2 separate regions of the Homo sapiens genome follow, and region 1 is linked to region 2. The links are contacts of gene promoters, found by promoter capture Hi-C in blood cells and fetal thymus (Javierre and others, 2016). All regions are on one chromosome and are shown on one strand. The core of a region is centred on a gene start or on the middle of the fragment in contact, and the rest is flanking DNA. Distances in the headings are between cores, read along the strand shown.

Evidence for each region. Contacts are between HindIII fragments. The CHiCAGO score rates a contact against its expected background, and 5 or more counts as called.
Region 1: a fragment that was not itself captured here is called in contact with the fragment with the promoter of UBE2W in region 2 in 1 of 17 cell types (naive CD8 T cells); the score reaches 5.3 in naive CD8 T cells.

What each region holds. Positions count from the first base shown.
Region 1 is chr8:76,990,743-76,993,504 of GRCh38, forward strand. The region is part of intron 1 of PEX2 (peroxisomal biogenesis factor 2); the gene reads right to left. Among named protein-coding and RNA genes, the nearest start is that of PEX2, 8.0 kb to the right of the region's middle. The HindIII fragment of the contact is 3,106 bases long and covers 1-2,762 here.
Region 2 is chr8:73,877,480-73,880,179 of GRCh38, forward strand. UBE2W (ubiquitin conjugating enzyme E2 W) reads right to left here and starts at 1,383. Exons shown (of 6, transcript NM_018299.6): 1 at 1,329-1,383. The coding sequence starts at 1,343. It overlaps LINC01617 (long intergenic non-protein coding RNA 1617), which reads left to right and starts at 1,503. Exons shown (of 3, transcript NR_147034.1): 1 at 1,503-2,700. RefSeq lists enhancers at 66-115, 592-1,469 and silencers at 856-1,115, 1,136-1,185, 1,326-1,615. The HindIII fragment of the contact is 3,471 bases long and covers 1-2,382 here.

The DNA.
Region 1 (2,762 bases), core at 35-2,534, 3.1 Mb after region 2:
GCCCCAGAACAGTTACAATAGTAATAACAAAGATCACTGATCACAGGTCACCACTAAGAATATCATAATAAAAAAAAGTCTGAAATATTGCCAAGAATTACCTAAACGTTACACAGAGACACCAAGTTGAGTAAATGCTGTTGGAAAAAAAATTGTGCAGATAAACTTGATTGACTCGGTTTGCTACAAACCTTTAATTTGTAAAAGCAGTATCTGCAAACCAGAAGAAAGCACAGTAAAATATAACGAGGTGTGAACTAGGCTATACCAAGTAGGTTTGTGTGAGTACACCCTATGATGTTCGCACAATGATGAAATCATCAAACTATGCGTTTCTCAGAATGTACCCCCTTGATAAGCAACTCATAACTGCATCTCTTCCTCAGGTTCCTTAGTGATATTTAGTGAGAAACTGGTCAGAGTGAGTGGTTTGTCAGAAGAATCATCTATTTCAAGTTTCTTGTTTTTGGAGGAATTACACTTAAAAACATTCAGTAAAAACAGGAATTTTTAATGACTGCCAGAAAAGGAGACCTAAAACGGTCTTTAACCAATACAATATTTAACAATATTTATTATCAAAAAATTCTTTCTTATCCCTTCTGTTACAGTTTAACATTTTTTTCTTTCTTCTTTTCCTCCCCAGGCCTGGCCTCAGTGTAGATTAGGAACAGCTGGGTTTGCTCTCCTCCCTACGTAAGACTCTTTAATAGACCAAAAGACTATTATTAAACTGTTCTTCAGCCTTTGCTCCTCCAGATGAATAATTTCTCTCTATTTTTTGTTTTAGGTTTTATTTTCCAACATTTTAGTCATTTTTGTGACTTCTTTTAGTTGTAAACATAGAACAGACACTGTCTATTACACACCATAGTTCATTAAAGTGGAATACTTCTCCCATGCTCTACATTCTTCTTTAGGCATCTGTCACAGAGTGGAAAAAGCAGATTTAAAATCAAACAGGCCTGGGCTCAAGTTCTAGCTCTGTCACTTACTTGCTATGAGATCTTAAAAAACTTCATTAGCCTCGGATTCTTCTCCTAAAAGTTGGAAATAACAGCTACCTCACAAAGTTGTTGAGATTAAACCAGATAATGTTACGAAAGTGGTTTAGAAGCCATAAAGCAGTATTATTTATTACATTATTGTTGCTTTGGCTAGGGATGAGCATGAAAAGTAACAGGCCCCAAACTAATTTTGGCAAATCTCATTTCGAAAGACTGAAACCTTCACTGTTAGTTATAGTAATGCCTCAATCAACCTGTATCAAAATGTTTTTCCAGGAAATATTGACATCATTAAGACATAAATTGTGGCAGTTAAACCACAAACATAATGTCACCCTTATGTGTGCACGTGGGAGGGGCCAGGCAGGAGTGGGCAGAGATATGATGGTTCAGTGGAACTCACTGCCCACTTAACTTGCACCTTGTCTGAAAGGATATGACACAGTGTGGATAGAGAAAAGAGATGGGTTCCCGCATGACCTGCTCCTGTCATTATTTAGCCCCTATCAACATAGTTGTGCCTGTTATCTTGAAGTAAAGAAACCTCATGAATGCACACTTACAATATTTGACTCTAGGGTGCTTTGCTGCACACAACATGGTACAGGCAGTCCAAGACAAGCAACAAACTTGTATTCATCACCAGCATATTACATTCAGTTCTTCCTCATCACACATACTCCCACCCCACTCCTCTCTTTCTGGCAGGTACAGCTATTCTAGAATACTCTCTTTAGAAAAGGGCAGCAAAGGAGTAGAAGAAAATGATGAAATCAAAATAACTAGAAATTCAATTAACCCAATTATGGAATCTTCTTCCCTCTACAGCAGTACAACAAGATTTGTTATAATAGGTATGAAGCATAAATGCCATAAACGACTTTATATCACATAAAATTATTCCCAATATAGTGTAAGCAGTTTGTGTTTTAGTGAATTCTAATTCTCTGACAAATGGTTACTCAATGTAACAAATATATACTGGACACCTATCAAATACAAGGCATTCTCCTAGGTACTAGAGATTCAATCTAAATATTTAACTGTCAGCTAGCTTCCTTTTATTCAAGCATTTTAAAAGACATAGGAAATCAGGACTGGCCATTGATCTCTGAAGTGAAGAATGGATCCCAAAACGTGAAAACATTATAAAAGATCACAAAACTTTCCAGGGAGAAAAGAGGAAAATGGTATGTAAGGCAAGGGAACAGGCTGTGTGAAAGCCCAGAAATAGCAAGCTCCTGACCATAGCCTAGCTGGGACATACGGACATGAGTTGCACCATGAGCTACATCCTTGGTTATTTAACCCCCGTCAATGTGGCTGCATCTGTTATCTGGAAGGAGACAAGTCATCTGTCATGACCAAAGCAGGCTGGCAGGAGAGACTGGCTGAAGTGTCAACCTAGCCACATTGTAAAAAGAACCTGTGTTAAGGAAATTGTATTGATTCTGTAGGCATGAATAATCATTGAAGAGAAGAGACATAATGGGATATAAATTTCAAAAGATTAATCTGACGGCAGAGTTCAATAAAACTGAAGAAAAGAAAAACTGCCGTTCTGGGAGACCAGATTTATAGGATTCCTGCAACAATTCAGGGGCCTACCTATGATGCTAACAACTTCCCTGAAAAGTCAAAGTAATTTAACTTACTTAAGAACCATGGAAATCAAGAGGAAGACTATACTATCCTTTCACATTTTTGGGTCAAAAATTCCCAGTGCTTTTGGTAAACTAGTACTCTCCTTACTTC
Region 2 (2,700 bases), core at 133-2,632:
ATAACATAAAAGCACAGGAGTAAATGTGAAGCAAAGCTATATTTGTACAAAAGAGGAAGAAGATGCAGAAAAGGGAAGAAAAACACTTTTAGCAGAGTAAAGAAAAAAAAATGGAGGAGGAACAGAGACTTGCTTCTTCCAGAAACAAAAGCAAAAAACACTTCTAAGAAAATGTGGTCTCTTTACCCAAGGGGATATTATGAAAACGCTAAAGGGTACTCAGCTGACACTCCTATTGAGCGTTCTACTTTCTCTTCCAATGCCTTTGATACCGCTAGTCTTCACCTGTGAATTAAATGCAGGCTACAGATAACGCACTCAATCCCTGCACAACTACAATTGTGGTTGCCATCTTTGCCTGGAAACAAAAAACAAAAAAACCCACAACTCCCTAGATTCGGGAAAAAGGAGTAAATTAAGTTGGAAAGCCAGAAAACCACGCCTTGCTAAGTCGGGGGGATATGGCACAGGTTAACAAACGCCTCCTACCAAACTAAGGTTCCACTAAAGGTCTGGGAATAAGGGCAAAGAGATGTATAGCCTTATCGCGACCGCAAGGGTGGGGCCTTGCAGTGGGAAACAAAATAGAAGGCAAGCTATCCCGAGAGGTTTAAGGGGGCTGAGGACTCGGCTCTCGGGAGATCGCCCATCAGGCGGTGGACACGGGGCAGCTTCGAGAGGAAGGAGACAGTGGACTGCTGGAGGAATGTCCGCGAGAATACCGAGGCTGATGGAAATAGAAGATACCCACGGGCACAGGATTAAGAGTCAAAGGGAAGAAGAGAGGGACGGGGCCGAGCAGTCTGGGGGGCCCGGCGTGGGAGGCCGGAGCAGAGGCCGCTAAGCGCCGTCCGCAGCCAGCCGCCTTCTCCGGAGACGCATTCTCGGCTCCCGCACACTCAGCCCCCCGCCGCCCCTGCCCCGGCAACAACCGCGGGCGCAGCTGTTTCCGTCGGGCCAGGGACAGCGGGGGTAAAGGCAACCCTGGGGCTGGCGGGCAGCAGACTGGCAGCGCCCGTGTGTGTGTGCGGGGAGCCGATTCTGAGACCGCCAACGCCAGACTTTGCCCTTTCTTCCCCAACCCTCCTTTATCACCCAACTTCCCGGCCGGCTGGTGTCCGCTTCGACCGACGGATACCGCACCCCCCACAACGCCTCTCGCCGCCTCTTACCCCTCCCCCGACGCCCTGAGCTGAGGGAAAACAGGCCACCCGGACCGATCCCGAACCCGCCCGGGTGTCCCCGAATCGCGGACGCCACCCCCGCCCGAACGCTGGCACTCTCTCGGCGGCTCCCTGGCCCGCCCAGATGCAGCAAACTCCTCTCACCTGCATTGACGCCATGATGGAACCATCCCCCCAAGACCGGCGAGGCCAGAGACGCAGGGGGAGGAGCTGCCGTGCTCGCGTCACGCCGCGGGGGCTCAACATCCCGGGCGCGGGGGCGGGGTCTGCGATGGGAAGGGGATGGAGCGAGGGGATTGGCTGGCGCGCAGGGCGGACGGGAGGAGGGGCTACGGGGCGGGGCGAGGGCGCGGTAAATGGCGCTCTGAGTACTTTCTGTCTCAGTCCGGCTGGCCGCTCACGCGTCGGGCCCCCATTTACTCTCGTTACTGAGGAGACACGGCTCCAGTTTTGACCCGACTACGGTTGTTTTCTTCGTGTGTACCGCGAAATGCTGATGACGTCCGGTTCCGCGCAGTTTTTTTCCTATTTCGTTTCCAACCACAGTTGTGCGGTTCACAGATTTTTCCCTTGGGATGTGTTTTCCATACCTCCAAGCCCACTCTCAGAGCCTTGGGGCCCCATAAAACTTCATGCGCAGCTGCTTTCTGGTATTTGCAGACCTGGAAGGCTTCTCGTATTCTTAATTTGGGGAAGAGAGACATAGGTTTCCTTGTACAACGGGATGAGGATTTAAGAGCAGAACGACACTGATATTTTAAAGGCGAGGGTATTTAGATTTGTGGAGCTGAAACTTGCCTGAAAAGGGAGACAAAATTTGGAAGTTTGTTGTGTGCAGTTTCTGCCCCTTACCCCCGCCCTTCACTTTTAAACTGCGCATATATCAACAATAGTTACGGTTGTTGCAGCAGTCTAAATTTGATTATCAGAATTGACCCTAGGCATGAATTTTTTTTTAAATATACCAATGTCGTGTTATATACACTTATACCATTATGTCCAGACTTCTCTTAAGCATAGTTCGTGGTGGGCAGTTTTGTGGTCATTTAGGGATGAACTTGGGTAGGGAAAGCTGAGCATACATAATTTATTTTAGGAATGCACCAGTTCTGCCAACATTTATCAGAAGTCACGTTTTTAAAAAGCTATTCTGGAACTGAAGATGTCATTGGTTTATAAGAGGAAAATGGAAGCCAAAAGCTTACACCTCATGCTCTATCTTTAAAAATTAAGGTGGCAGACACAATGAGTAGAAGGCTTTTATGTTACCAGAATGAAGGCTTAAAATCTGTCATTTTATTGACTCGGCTTTCTTTTTAGAAATTTCTTTAAGATATAAAAGCAATGTGGAATATCACTCTTTCACACTCTTAAAATAGATTACGTTCTCTGGAACTTCTCTAATCTGAAATGTGTTCAAAAAGGAAAAAGATCTTTAAAATACGCCAGTTAGTCTATGGTATAATATTAAACACTATTCATCACTAGAGAAGTTATGGTGGTATACCCTCCCCTT